2 separate regions of the Homo sapiens genome follow, and region 1 is linked to region 2. Evidence: promoter capture Hi-C in 16 types of primary human blood cells and fetal thymus (Javierre and others, 2016). All regions are on one chromosome and are shown on one strand. The core of a region is centred on a gene start or on the middle of the fragment in contact, and the rest is flanking DNA. Distances in the headings are between cores, read along the strand shown. Region 1 overlaps AP3B2 (adaptor related protein complex 3 subunit beta 2). Region 2 holds the start of HOMER2 (homer scaffold protein 2).

What was found. Contacts are between HindIII fragments. The CHiCAGO score rates a contact against its expected background, and 5 or more counts as called.
Region 1: a fragment that was not itself captured here is called in contact with the fragment with the promoter of HOMER2 in region 2 in 3 of 17 cell types (naive CD8 T cells, total CD4 T cells and total CD8 T cells); the score reaches 6.7 in naive CD8 T cells.

The regions. Positions count from the first base shown.
Region 1 is chr15:82,668,436-82,675,034 of GRCh38, forward strand. All of the region lies in intron 14 of AP3B2 (adaptor related protein complex 3 subunit beta 2), which reads right to left. All of the region lies in intron 3 of CPEB1-AS1 (CPEB1 antisense RNA 1), which reads left to right. Among named protein-coding and RNA genes, the nearest start is that of CPEB1-AS1, 24 kb to the left of the region's middle. The HindIII fragment of the contact is 8,602 bases long and covers 1-6,599 here.
Region 2 is chr15:82,948,692-82,955,443 of GRCh38, forward strand. HOMER2 (homer scaffold protein 2) reads right to left here and starts at 4,029. Exons shown (of 9, transcript NM_004839.4): 1 at 3,840-4,029. The coding sequence starts at 3,844. RefSeq lists an enhancer at 3,279-3,779. The HindIII fragment of the contact is 1,453 bases long and covers 3,215-4,667 here.

The DNA.
Region 1 (6,599 bases), core at 2,094-4,593, 280 kb before region 2:
ATAGTCAATTATCAAGAGGCTGCTGATCCCTCTTTTGGTTTGGACAATGTCTTCCTCCACAGATTTCCCAGCTGGCTGATCACAGACTCCCTCCTTCAAGTCCTTGCCTAGTTCTAGAAAGAACTGTTTGGTATTTGGATCCATCTGTCCACAGCCTTAACTGCATGTTAACAACCAACACAGGAAGGGGCTGGCCCACCACCTCAACACTGCAGGATTTGCCTATAATAATTCATTACCCTTCTCCACCCCAAGGGGCCATTCCCTGTGGATTGTGGCATCCTGTGTGCACCACCAAGACCCCCACCTCATCTAGCCAGGATGTGCAGGAATTACAGGCTGTTCAAGAAGGCCTCTGAGATACACTCCAGTGTGCCAAGAACAGAACAAGGCTCCCCCTCACCAACAGGCTCCAGTTGTCAGAGAGGAATTTTAAGCAGGAAACACTGACTTCCTTTCCATAACCTATGCCAACATACATGCTACCTTGCAGATGCCTGCTAATCATGCTTAGAAAACTGGCTGTTAAAAAAAATTGAAATATATCCTCAATTCACACATTACACATGAGTAAGTTTAAGCTCTAGATGGATGTGGCAGACAGATTCTAAGGTCTTCCCCACCAGTAGCTGCCTCCTGGTGTTCATGCCTTTGTGCAATCCCTCACCTTGGGTATGGGCAAAACCTGAGACTTGCTTCTAACCAACAGGATATGGCAAAGGTGGTATATGACTATATATGATCCTATGATTATGTTTTATTAAGAAGACTCTGTATTGGAAGTTCTATCTAGAGCAATCAGACAGGAGAAAGAAATAAAGGGTATCCAAATTGGAAAAGAATTCAAATTATCCTTGTTTGCAGATGATATGATCTTATATTTAAAAAATCTTAAGGATTCCACCAAAAAACTATTAGAACTAATAAATTCAGTAAAGTCGCAGGATACAAAATCCACATAAAAATCAGTAGCATTGGCCAGGTGCGGTGGCTGATGCCTGTAATCCCAGCACTTTGGGAGGCCGAGGCAGGCAGATCGTGAGATCAAGAGATTGAGACCATCGTGGCCAACATGATGAAATCCTGTCTCTACTAAAAATACAAAAATTAGCTGGATGTGGTGATGCACACCTGTAGTCCGAGCTACTCAGGAGGCTGAGGCAGGAGAACCGCTTGAACCCGGGAGGTGAAGGTTGCAGTGAGCCAAGATGGCGCCACTGCACTCCAGCCTGGTGACAGAGCAAGACTCCGTTTCAAAAAAAAAAAAAATCAGTAGCATTGTCCAGGCACAGTGGCTCACACCTGTAATCCTAGCAAGCACTTTGGGAGGCCGAGGCAGGCAGAATACCTGAGGTCAGGAGTTCGAGACCAGTCTGACCAACATGGAGAAACCCTGTCTCTACTAAAAATACAAAATTAGCTGGGCATGGTGGTGCATGCCTGTAATCCCAGCTACTCGGGAGGCTGAGGCAGGAGAATTGCTTGAACCCGGGAGGCAGAGGTTGTGGTGAGTGGAGATCGCGTCACTGCAGTCCAGAGCCTGGGCAACAGAGTGAGAACTCCATCTCAAAAAAAAAAAAAAAAAAAAACCCATTGCACTCCAGCCTGGGCAACAAGAGCAAAACTCCGTCTCCAAAAAAAAAAAAAAAAAAAAAAATCAGTGGCTTTTTTTTTTTTGGCGGGGGGGGACGAAGATGAAGTCTCGCTCTTGTCCCCTAGGCTGGAGTGCAGTGGCGCGATCTTGGCTCACTGCAACCTCCGCCTCCCGGGTTCAAGCAATTCTCCTGCCTCAGCCTCCCAAGTAGCTGGGATTACAGGCACCCGCCACCACGCTCAGCTAATTTTTGTATTTTTAGTAGAGACAGGGTTTCGCCATGCTGGCCAGGCTGCTCTTGAACTCCTGACTTCAGGTGATCCACCAGCCTCGGCCTCCCAAGATGCTGGGATTACAGGCATGAGCCACCACGCCTGGCCGTGAATTCATTTTTGACAAAGGTATCAAGAACATACATTAGGGAAAGGAGAGTCTCTTCAATAAATGGCGCTGGGAAAACGGGATATCCACATGCAGAACAATAAAACCAGACCCCTATCTCTCACCATATGCAAAAATCAAATCATAGTGGATTAAAAACTTAAATCTAACACTTCAAACTATGAAACTAATAAAAGAAAACATTAGAGAAATTCTCCAGGACATTGTACTGGGCAAAGATTTCTTGAGTGATACCCCACAAGCACGGGCAACCAAAGCAAAAGTAGACAAATGGGATCACATCAAGTTACAAAGGTTCTGCACAGCAAAGGAATCAACAAAGAGACAAGCCACAGAATAGGAGGAAAAAATTTGCAAACTACCCATCTGACAAGGGATTAATAACCAGAATACGTAAGGAGATCAAATAACTCAATAGGAAAAAAAAATTCAATAATCCAATTTAAAAATGGGCAAAAGAGCTGAATAGACATTTCTCAAAAGAAGACATACAGATAGCAAACACGTATATGAAAAGGTGATCAACATCATTGAGCATCAGAGAAATGCAAATCAAAACTACAATGAAAGGCCAGGCACGGGTGGCTCATGCCTGTAATCCCAGTACTTTGGGAGGCTGAGGCAGGCGGATCACCTGAGATCAGGAGTTGAGACCAGCCTGACCAACACAGCGAAACCCCATCTTTACTAAAAGTACAGAAATTAACGGGGCGTGGTGACGCACGCCTGTAGTCCCAGCTACTCAGGAGGCTGAGGCAGGAGAATCACTTGAACCACAGAGGCAGAGGTTGCAGTGAGCCAAGATCGCACCACTGCACACTCCAGCCTGGGTGACAGAGCAAGACTCCGTCTCAAAAAACAAAACAAAACAAAAAAAGATATATCATCTCACCCCAAGTAGGCTTATATCCAAAAGATAGGCAATAACAAATGCTGACAAGAACATGGAGAAAAGGCAACCCTTGTACACTGTTAGTGGAAATGTCTGGAGAACAGTTTGGAGGTTCCTTAAAAAACTAAACATAGGCCGGGCACGGTGGCTCACACCTGTAATCCCAGCACTTTGGGAGGCCGAGGTGGGTGGATCGCGAGGTCAAGAGATCAAGACCATCCTGGCCAACATGGTGAAACCCTGTCTCTACTAAAAATACAAAAAATTAGCTAGGCGTGGTGGCAGGCACCTGTAATCTCAGCTACTTGGGAGGCTGAGGCAGAAGAAGAATCACTTGCACCCAGGAGGCAGAGGTTGCAGTGAGGCAAGATCACGCCATTGCACTCCAGCCTGGGAAAAAAGAGTGAAACACCATCTCAAAAAAAAACACTACAAATAGGCCAGGTGCAGTGGCTCACGCCTGTAATCCCAGCACTTTGGGAGGCCGAGTCGGGCAGATCACTTGCGGCCAGGAGTTCAAGACCAGCCTGGCCAACATGGTGAAACCCCATCTCTACTAAAAATATGAAAATTAGCCAGACTTGGTGGCGGGCGCCTGTAATCCCAGCTACTCAGGAGGCTGAGGCAGGAGAATCGTTTGAACCTGGGAGGCGGAGGTTGCAGTGAGCTGAGATCATGCCATTGCACTCCAGCCTGGGTGACAGTGCAAGACTCCATCTCAAACAAACAAACAAAAACTAAAAATAGTGCTACCATATGATCCAGCAATCCCAATGCTATGTATATACCCAAAAGTAAGGAAATCAACATATTGAAGTTATATCTGCACACCTACGTTTATTGCAGCACTGTTCACCATAGCCAAGATTTGAAAGCAACTTAAGTGTCTATCAACAGACAAATAGATAAAGAAAATACGGTACATATGCACAATGCAGTACTATAAAAAAAGAATAAAAAAGAATGAGATCCTGTCATTTGCAACAACATGGATAGAACTAGAGGTCATTATTTTAAGTGAAATAAGCCAAGCACAGAAAAACAAACTTCACATGTTCTCACTTATTTGTGAGGGCTAAAAATTAAAAGAATTGAGCTCATGGAGTTGGAGAGTAGAATAATGGTTACCAGAGGCTGAGAAGGGTAGTGGGTGGGGGAAGTGGGGATAGTTAATGGGTACAAAATTATAGTTAGATAGAATGTGTAAGATCTAGTATTTGACAGCACAACAGGGTGACTACAGTCAACAATAATTTATTATACATTTATAAATAACTAAGAGAGTGTAATTTGATTGTTTGTAACACAAAAGATAAATGCTTGAGAGGATGGATACCCCATTCCCTGATGTGATTGTTATGCATTATATGCCTGTATCAAAATATCTCACATACCCCATAAATATATACACCTACTATGTACCCATAAAAATTAAAAAATAAAAAGAAGACGGTCTTGCTAGCAGACTGGCTCTAGAGACTTTCTCCCTTGTGGCTTTGGAGAAATTAAGCATCCGTGTTGGGAGGCCCCTATGGCAATGAGCTAAGGACGGCCTCTAGAAGGCAAGGGCAGCCCCCAGCTGACAGCCAGCAAGAAGCCAGGGCCACAATCCTACAACTGCAAGGAAGTGGATCGTGGCACCATGTGACTTGGAAGTGGACCTTTCCCCAGTACAGCCTCCAGATAAAAACTCAGCCTTGGCTGACACCTCAGTTGTAGCCTTGCATAAGATCCAACTAAGCCATACCTGAATTCTCGACCCATAGACACTGAGAAAATAAACGTGTGTTGTTTGAAGCCACCAAATTTATAGTAATTTATTATGTAGCAGAAAACTAATACAATTGATTTAAAAATGTGAAAGTAGAAAAAAATTTGGAGGAAATTCTTTTTAATTTTTATTTATTTTTGAGATGGATCTTGCTCTGTGGCCCAGGCTGGAGTGTGGTGGTACCATCTCAGCTCACTGTAACCTCCACCTCCTGGGTTCAAGCAATTCTCCTGCCACAGCCTCCCAAGTAGCTGAGATTTCAGCGCACCACCACACCCAGCTAATTTTTTTGTACTTTTAGTAGAGACAGGGTTTTGCCATGTTGGTCAGGCTGGTCTTGAATTCATGACCTCAAATGACCCACCCACCTTGGGCTCCCAAAGTGCTGGGATTACAGGTGTGAGCCACTGAACCCAGCCTGGAGAAAATTCTAAGTGAAAAGTTTAATTGAAATGTGAATGGGGAAAAAAAAGTATTAAATATGAAAGCATTGAAAAGAAGCAGAAAAGTTTAAAATATTGGACAATAGACAAAAGTACAACTTCTGAATGACTATATATAGGAATAAAAAATAAGGAAATATATAATTAATGGTGGTCTTCTAAATGGTGGACTTATTAATAGTTTAAACTTATAATTTTCTGAGTTTTCCAAATGTTCTATGATAAGCATGTATTACCTTTAGCATATTAAAAAAAGTTTACGTTTTTAAAAGCAATTCTGCAAAATTTGTCAGAATCTTCTATTCACTGTAAAGGCGGTCACATGGGAGGGTTGTAGATCCCACTGTGCCCCTGGCAGACCCTCCTGCCACACATCTCACCTGACACATAAAAGCAAACTAACCTGCTAGGCAGTTTCCCCAGGGTCTATATCCAGGTGGATGTAATAGCCACTTTGATTACCAACCCCCCCATCCCCCGCCACCTGCATGTTATGCCTTTGTGGCCTCTGGTCTAGTATCTGATTATCTGCTGATCAATAGCAGGGCAGAGGCCTCATCTTGGTCATTTCCTTGGCCTCATCCTGGGCCAGGATCTGGCATGCCGTGGGCCCATGTCCAAATTGGAGAGAATGACTGAGATTACTGTGGCCTTTTAGCTGGGCAGATTGCCACTCATGGTCCCAGGATGGGAAGCATCACTACTGTTTTGCAAGCATGGTCATGTGCGCATCCAAACCACCTCCCTCCTAGTACCCCAAGGACTCCCCCTTCTTTACCACTCCCAGAAGAGGCTGGGAAGAAAGGAGAAAGAAAGGGAGGACAAAAATCTTTATTGAATCAAATAACCATTCTAAGGGGCCTGCAAAAACTCACTTGCAGGTGAAGGGCGCCCTGGAGGTGAGTGTCCATTTGCCTGAACAGCCTACTCTGGGTTCCCTGACAGGGGTCATTCCTAGGGGAGGGTTCAGCTGTATATACCCACAGCTCGCTGTGCCAACCCTGATGACAGCTGTTACTGCTGTGTTTAAAATGTTTATTTTTGTCCTGTTTCTCCTACTTGGCTGTGAGTATCTGGAGACCTGTAAATGTGTCTCACTCATTGTCATATCCTCAGGACGCAGCACAGTACCAGGCAAATAGTAGGCCTACATGTTAAATAAATGAACAAATGCACATGTAGCTCACAGTAACAACTTGGGGGAAATGACATGTGGACAGGCCCAGGCTTATGAAAACATGCCAACCTCACCATCCTGGGGTTTAGGACTCTGGCTCAGTGCTGAGCATGTCAGACTCCCACCTACATATATGTTAAATAAATGAACAAATGCACATGTAGCTCACAGTGACAACTTGGGGGAAATGACATGTGGACAGGCCCAGGCTTATGAAAACATGCCAACCTCACCATCCTGGGGTTTAGGACTCTGGCTCATTGCTGAGCATGTCAAGACTCCCACCTACCTGGGTGGCTCCCCACCCAGGCTGCTTCATC
Region 2 (6,752 bases), core at 2,779-5,278:
AATTCCAGGCAGGGGAAACAGCAAGTGCAAGGATCTCAGGTAAGGCAAGAAAAGGAAAGGAGATCTATGTTAGCAGAACACAGTGAGGGGCACAGCAGCATGGCAGGGGGAGCTGCGCCCAGCGCCTGGTCAGTGGGAGGTATTTAAAAAGGGGAATGACATGATCTGATTTATGATTTTAAAAGCTGGTCACTTAGGCTTCTGTGTGAAAAATGGACTGCAGACAACCCAGAGTGGATACTGGGGGGCCTGTTAGGAAAGAGGTGATGGTGGCTAGAGTGGGAACTATGGCTATGGGGTGAGGTGAATGCACTCCAGATATATCCCGGAAGTAGAATGCACAGGACAAACTGATAGCCTGCATGTGAGAGGTTGGGAAGAGGACTCAAACATGACTCTTGGCAAATGAGTGCATGGTAGGGCCACTGACTTGGATGGGGAAGACGGAAGGCAGGTGAGAGCTGGAAGGCATATCAAGAGCTCCATGTATTGACGAGAGTCAGAAGCTCCAAGAAAGATCTGAGCTAGAAATTAAAGTGTGGGCATCATGGGCATATCGATGGCATTTGAAGCCATGGGAGGGTGGGGAGGAGTTGCAGGTGGGACAGTATTACCTAGGAAGACAGTGTGGACAGAGAAAAGGAACCAGGACCAGTCCCTGGGCAACCCCATGATTAGGAGTAAGAAGAAAAGCAGGAAACAGTGGGGCCAGAGGAGCTGAGAGGGGTGTTGTTTTGAGGAGAGGGAGTGGTCATTTGTTAGGAATGCTGCTGAGAGAGGTGAAGTGAGGTGAGGCTGAGATCTGGCAACCCCCTGGTCACCCAAGACCCTGGCAGTTTTGGTGCAGAGGTGAGGCAGAAGCAAGACTGTAGAGTATGGAGAGTGAACAAATGGCAGGAGAAAGTGAATGGAGCCAGTGGGTTTGGATGTATCTTCTGAGGTGTTTTCAGGTGAAGAAGAGCAAAGAAGTGAAACAGGAGAGGGATGTAGGAGGGAGGGAGATCTCCTTTTTAAGATGAGAGCAACTAAAGCTATGCTATCCAATATGGTGGCCACTAGCTACATGTGGCTATTTAAATTTAGATTAAGTTAAAAATTCAGGTCCTCAGTCTCAACAACCACATTTCAAGTGTCCAATAACCACATGTGCTGGTGGCTGCCACGCAGATACAGAACATTTCCAGCAGTGCAGAAAGTTCTGTTGGTCAGATGTATGCTCCTATACTGATGGAGAAGACCCCGGAGAGAAAGGTGGTTAGGAAGGAGAGACAATCTCTGAAAAGATGGGAGGAGGAAGGGATGGAATGGAGGCTACCCCAGAAGAAGGGGCCCCTAGTAGGAAGAGATGAGGGACAGGTCATCCAGCACAGCAGGCAGGTAGGAGAAGGTAGCAGCAGCTGCATACTAGACTAGGTGGTGGCAAAATGAAGACATTCCCTTGGTCAAAGGTGCCTATCTTGTCAATTGAAAGGGAAGCCACGGGGTGTGCCTAGGAAGGGGAGAGGTCTGGAAAGGGGAATAGGTATGAAATAGTTGCCTTAGGGAGTAAGAACACAAACTCACTGGAGAGGCCACACTTAACACAGAACACTTCGCAGAAGAGAAGTGGAAAATGGTAGTGAACATTTGAGGGAGGAGAAGCATCTCAAGTTGGGGGGAGGTAAACTCAGATAGTTTGTTTTTTTTTCCCTTAAATCCTAGTCCTGTCTACACAGCAGAGCCATGACGAAGCTGTAGGATCGCAGCAAGGTTTTCTACTAGCTGCCCTTTCAAAAAGTTCTTCCCCCTCCATCCTACACAACTCTCAGAAAGGATGACATTGGTTCTATTTTCAGTTAAAACGGCTCCCTCCACCCTCCTGTCTGAATTGCTTCCCCAGCCCTTAGCTGCATCTCAATTTACGACCATGGCTTGTATTTTCACATAAATAATAGAAGACATGGATCTATTAAAAATGGCAGAGGTAGGTAGGAGTTACAAACCAGCCTTTATCTACGAGAAGTGAGTAATATATACATTTATCGAATGATGTTAAAATTACATGAAAGACATATTCTGTGTTTAAACAAAATCCCCAAGCGTCTCCTCCCTGCTTCTCCACAAACAAAAATTATTTTTTGACATTTTCTTTAAGGTTTTATGAGTGAGTAAACATTTTCATTTCCACAGAACTATTTGATCTCAACCACAGAGTTTCAGTACTTGTTTTTGATCACACAAGTACGGTGGATTGGTTTTGTGTTGGCCAGGGGGAGGGAGGGCCAGAAAGAGAGTTAAAATTACCGGATCCCTTTTATCTTCCATTCTGAGACCTTACATTTGCCAACTCCTTTTTCCCTGTACATTTTTTTAAAGTATGAAATCTGAGAACCTCAAAGGCTCTCACTGCTCAAAGATCAGCCTTTTCACAGTCCACTGAGGACTCACTGGAAATGTTACAGAAATACGGCCTGCCAACTTGGGTGCCTCTGGGTAAAATCACCCACAGTTGCTGTTCATGTGAAATCTCCTAAATGTAAGCACACTTCTTCAGCCCTCGCTGCTCATCTCGCCTCCTCCTCTCTGTCACCCACCTCTGTCATGTCCAGTTCATGTTGGCCCACAGCCCTCACACTTCCATTCCTCAAAATTCCTCTTGGCCTGCCTCTGATCCCCTCACACACTCTGCAGCTCCCATGGCTAAGACTCACCAGGCAAAATGACTCCAGAAACTTAACCTGGAGTACGGTGCAAGAAAGCCACTGACCCAGGGGGGCTGAGCCAGGGCACCAGGACAATCTTGCTCCTTCCACTGCACTCTTGCCTTCCCAGGCCCCACCCATCCCAAACAGGAAAGCAAGATCTCTAGACCCTTGGAGCAGAAGCATTTGAGTCCTGCGAAGGGCTGTTGGAAGAATGCTGGGTTCAGCAGCAGGGAACAGAGAGATTTAGGAATTCTGGTTCACTTACCCGCCTCCATGCCCACGTCAGGCAGTGGCAAGGCCACCCCTGCTACACAAATGCTCATCAACTACACAGCCTGGGGGAAGTCACCGAACCACTTTGTGCCTCAGTTTCCTCATCTGTAAAGTGGACATAAGTGTCCCCTGAATACGTATGGCAAACCGTCAACGTGTGCCCAAATAGAGTGAGCAGATGTAAGGAGTTATTGTGCTATTAGCACAGTGGCTCCCAGACTCACAGAGCCTACTGCTCAGAGAGACGCCGAGGGGAAAGCTTAAATTACTTTATATACTCAGAAGCATTAGTCACTTCGACAGAGTATTTCAACTTCCCTCCTGAGCATCTACTCAGTTGTTTCAAAGACTGAAGCCTCACCTAGGTTCCTTATAGACTTCCATCATCTTCAGCATCTCAAAGCAGATCCAAAGTCCACTATTCCTACGCTGGAGGTTTATTATTATTTGATTATTTCCAGGAAAACTTCGATTTCCATTTTGCTTGTAATAAATCCAAACGTGGAGAACGACAAACTGCTTAGACTCACACAGGCCCTGGAGTTGACTGCGCCCAGGGGCGAAGAGACCGCGGAATGGCCGAGGCAGGAGGCCGGCCAGGGCACCGGTCCCCGTCAGGTGCCCCCGTGCCCGGGCTGTATGGGAGGGGAAGGGCCACGGGCTCCGCGCCCAGGCCAGGGTGCCCCTGCTGGGTGTCCGCGTGCCCCGGCGGAGGGCGCGGGTCAGGTGGCCCCAGACTCCCGGGCGCAGAGTGTGCGCTCGCTCCGGCTTGGGGAGGCGGGGGCCGGCCCGCCGGGAGGCTCCGAGCCCGGTTACGCCAGCCGCGGCCCCGCAGTCCCTCCGGAGGGGCGCGCGGAGAGCGCGCGGCGCGGGCTCACTCACCCCATCTCCGGCGCTGCTCCGGCGGCCGCTCCGACGGGGCCTCTCGCGCTCGCTCTCCGCCCGCTCGGCAGCCGCTCCCCGCGCGGCACATGCGGCGGCCCGTGCGCGCCCGGCTCAGCCCCGGCGCCGCTCCATTCCGCGGGGCTGCGCGGCTGCCACTGCTGCCACTGCCGCCACCGCCGCCAGGCGCGGGCGGGCGGGGGCTGGGCGGCCGCGCTGGGGCGGTGCCCGCCCCGCCCTCCCCAGCCGCTACCCCCGCCCGGCTCCTTACGTAACCTCGTGGCCCCCGGGCCGCGGCAGCGAGCCAAGAGGCGGGGGGCGCAGCACTGTGTGCACCGTCCCCCGCGCAGCCGCGCAGTCGCCGCTTTTCTCCCGGGCCACCCAGTCCTCGGTGCCGGCCCCGCGTTGGCGCGCCCCCGCCCCACGCCGACCCGGGGCCCTGGCGCAGTGCCATCAACATCCTGCCTGATGGACTTAAAGTCCCATTCACACCTGGCGGGGACTTTAGGGCTACCTTTACTTTGCAGATAAGGGAACCGAGGCCTGGGGAGGGTAAGTGATTTGCCCAAGGTCACACATTCAGATTAGAGTTCGTTCGGGTCTCCAGAGTCTGAGATGGGCATAGCTGTGCTCCTCCTTAAAGCCCACCTTCATCTTCCTGCCAGTTGCCCGGCCGAGTGGCCTTAAGGTACCCGCCACCGTGAAATTTCGGAAGCCAGCCTGGCAGAGAAGAGCCTACAGGCCGCGGCAGATGCTCTGGGCTCTTTCCTGGATAAAAATGAGATGAGGGCTCCCACTTGAAGGGGCAGTTTTAAGGCGGCTTCATCAAGCTTGGTTTTATCCTTAGAGCGAGGGGAATTAGGATGGCAAAAGTAGAACTTGAAGAAGAGCAGGCTCTCTTCGTCGCCTTTCTACCTATCAGGTCCTGAGTTTCTACCAAAGGCTGGCACTGGGACTAACCTAACCTTCATCCCCCGGGACTTCCACGGGATCATCTTCTGCTGGGAACACACCGCCCACATAAGCCTGGCATCTCAGGACAGTAAAAAAGTCAAGGGACAGGTCGGGCGCGGTGGCTCACGCCTGTAATCCCAGCACTTTGGGAGGCCGAGGCGGGCGAATCACGAGGTCTGGAGATCGAGGCCATCCTGGCTAACACGGTGAAACCCCGTCTCTACTAAAAATACACACACACAAAAAAAATTAGCCGGGCGTGGAGACAGGCGCCTGTAGTCCCAGCTACTCCGGAGGCTGACGCACAAGAATCGCGTGAACCTGGAAGGCGGATCTTGTAGTGAGCCGAGATCGCACCACTGCACTCCAGCCTGGGCAACAGAGCGAGACTCCGTCTCAAAAAATAAATAAATTAATTAATTAAATACATAAATAGCCGGGTGTGGTGGCGTGCTCCTGTAGTCCCAGCTACTCCCAGCTACTCGGGAGGCTTGATGCAGGAGAATCGCTTGAACCCAGGAGGCAGGGGTTGCAGCGAGCCGAGATCATGCCACTGCACTCTAGCCTGGTGAAAAGAGCCAGACTGTCTCAAAAAAATAAATAAATAAATACAAAATAAGTTTGTAAAAAATAAAATAATCTTGGGAGTTTCCAAATCCTCCATGCATAGTAATCAGCAATATCAGGAAAGTGAGCTTGTAGAACACTGAACAAGTCATTTATCAGGTAATACCTGAGGATTCTGAAGTGTTCGAATAACTTCAAAGGCAAGCCACTGAAATCAGAGTTTTTCATTTTTATTTTATTTTTATTATTTTTTTTTTGAGACGGAGTCTCACTCTGCTCACCCAGGCTAGAGTGCAGTGGCAGTGGCGTGATCTCGGCTCACTGCAACCCCCACCTCCCAGATTCAAGCGATTCTACTGCCTCAGCCTCCCCAGTAGCTGCGACTGCAGGCGCATGCCACCACGCCCAGTTTTTTTTTTTTTTTGTATTTTTAGTAGAGACAGGGTTTCACCATGTTTCGATCTCCTGACCTCGTGATCCACCCGCCTCGGCCTCCCAAAGGGCTGGGACTACAGGCATGAGCCACCGTGCCTGGCCGAGTTTTTCATTTTTTTAAACTACAATCCACAGTAAGAAATATATTTTACACTACAACCTGCAACCTGGTACATACTTCAGCACATACATACTATGTCTATAGGTATATCGATATAAAATAGAAACAAAAAGTTATATAAAACAATGTTTATCCTCTCACTTGCCAGGCAGGCATTCAGACATCATTCTGTTTTGTTGTTGTTGTTGTTGAGACAGAGTGTTGCTCTGTCACCAGGCTGGAGTGCAGTGGCATGATCTCAGGGCACCACAACCTCCGCCTCCCAGGTTCAAGCGATTCTCCTGCCTCAGCCTCCCAAGTAGCTGGGACTACAGGCGCGCACCACCACCCCAGCTAATTTTTGTATTTTTAGTAGAGACAGGATTTCACCATGTTGGCCAGGATGGTCTCCATCTCTTGACCTCGTGATCGGCCCACCTCAGCCTCCCAAAGTGCTGGGATTACAGGCGTGTGCCACCGTGCCCGGCCCATTCTGTTCTATTTTTAAAAGCAGTACTGCTCATAACCTACTAAATTGATTTCAAAACCTATAATCTACGTATTTTTACTTTCTTTTTCTTTTTCTTTTTTTTTTTTTTTTGAGACGGAGTCTCACTCTGTTGCCCAGGCTGGAGTGCAGTGGCGCAATCTTGGCTCACTGCAACTTCTGCCTCCTGGGTTCATGCAATTCTCCTGCCTCAGCCTCCCGAGTAGCTGGGGCTACAAGCGCATGCCACCACACCTGGCTACTTTTTTGTAGTTTTAGTAGAGATGGGGTTTCACCATGTTAGCTAGGATGGTCTCGATCTCCAGACCTTGTGATCCGCCTGCCTCGGCCTCCCAAAGTGCTGGGATTA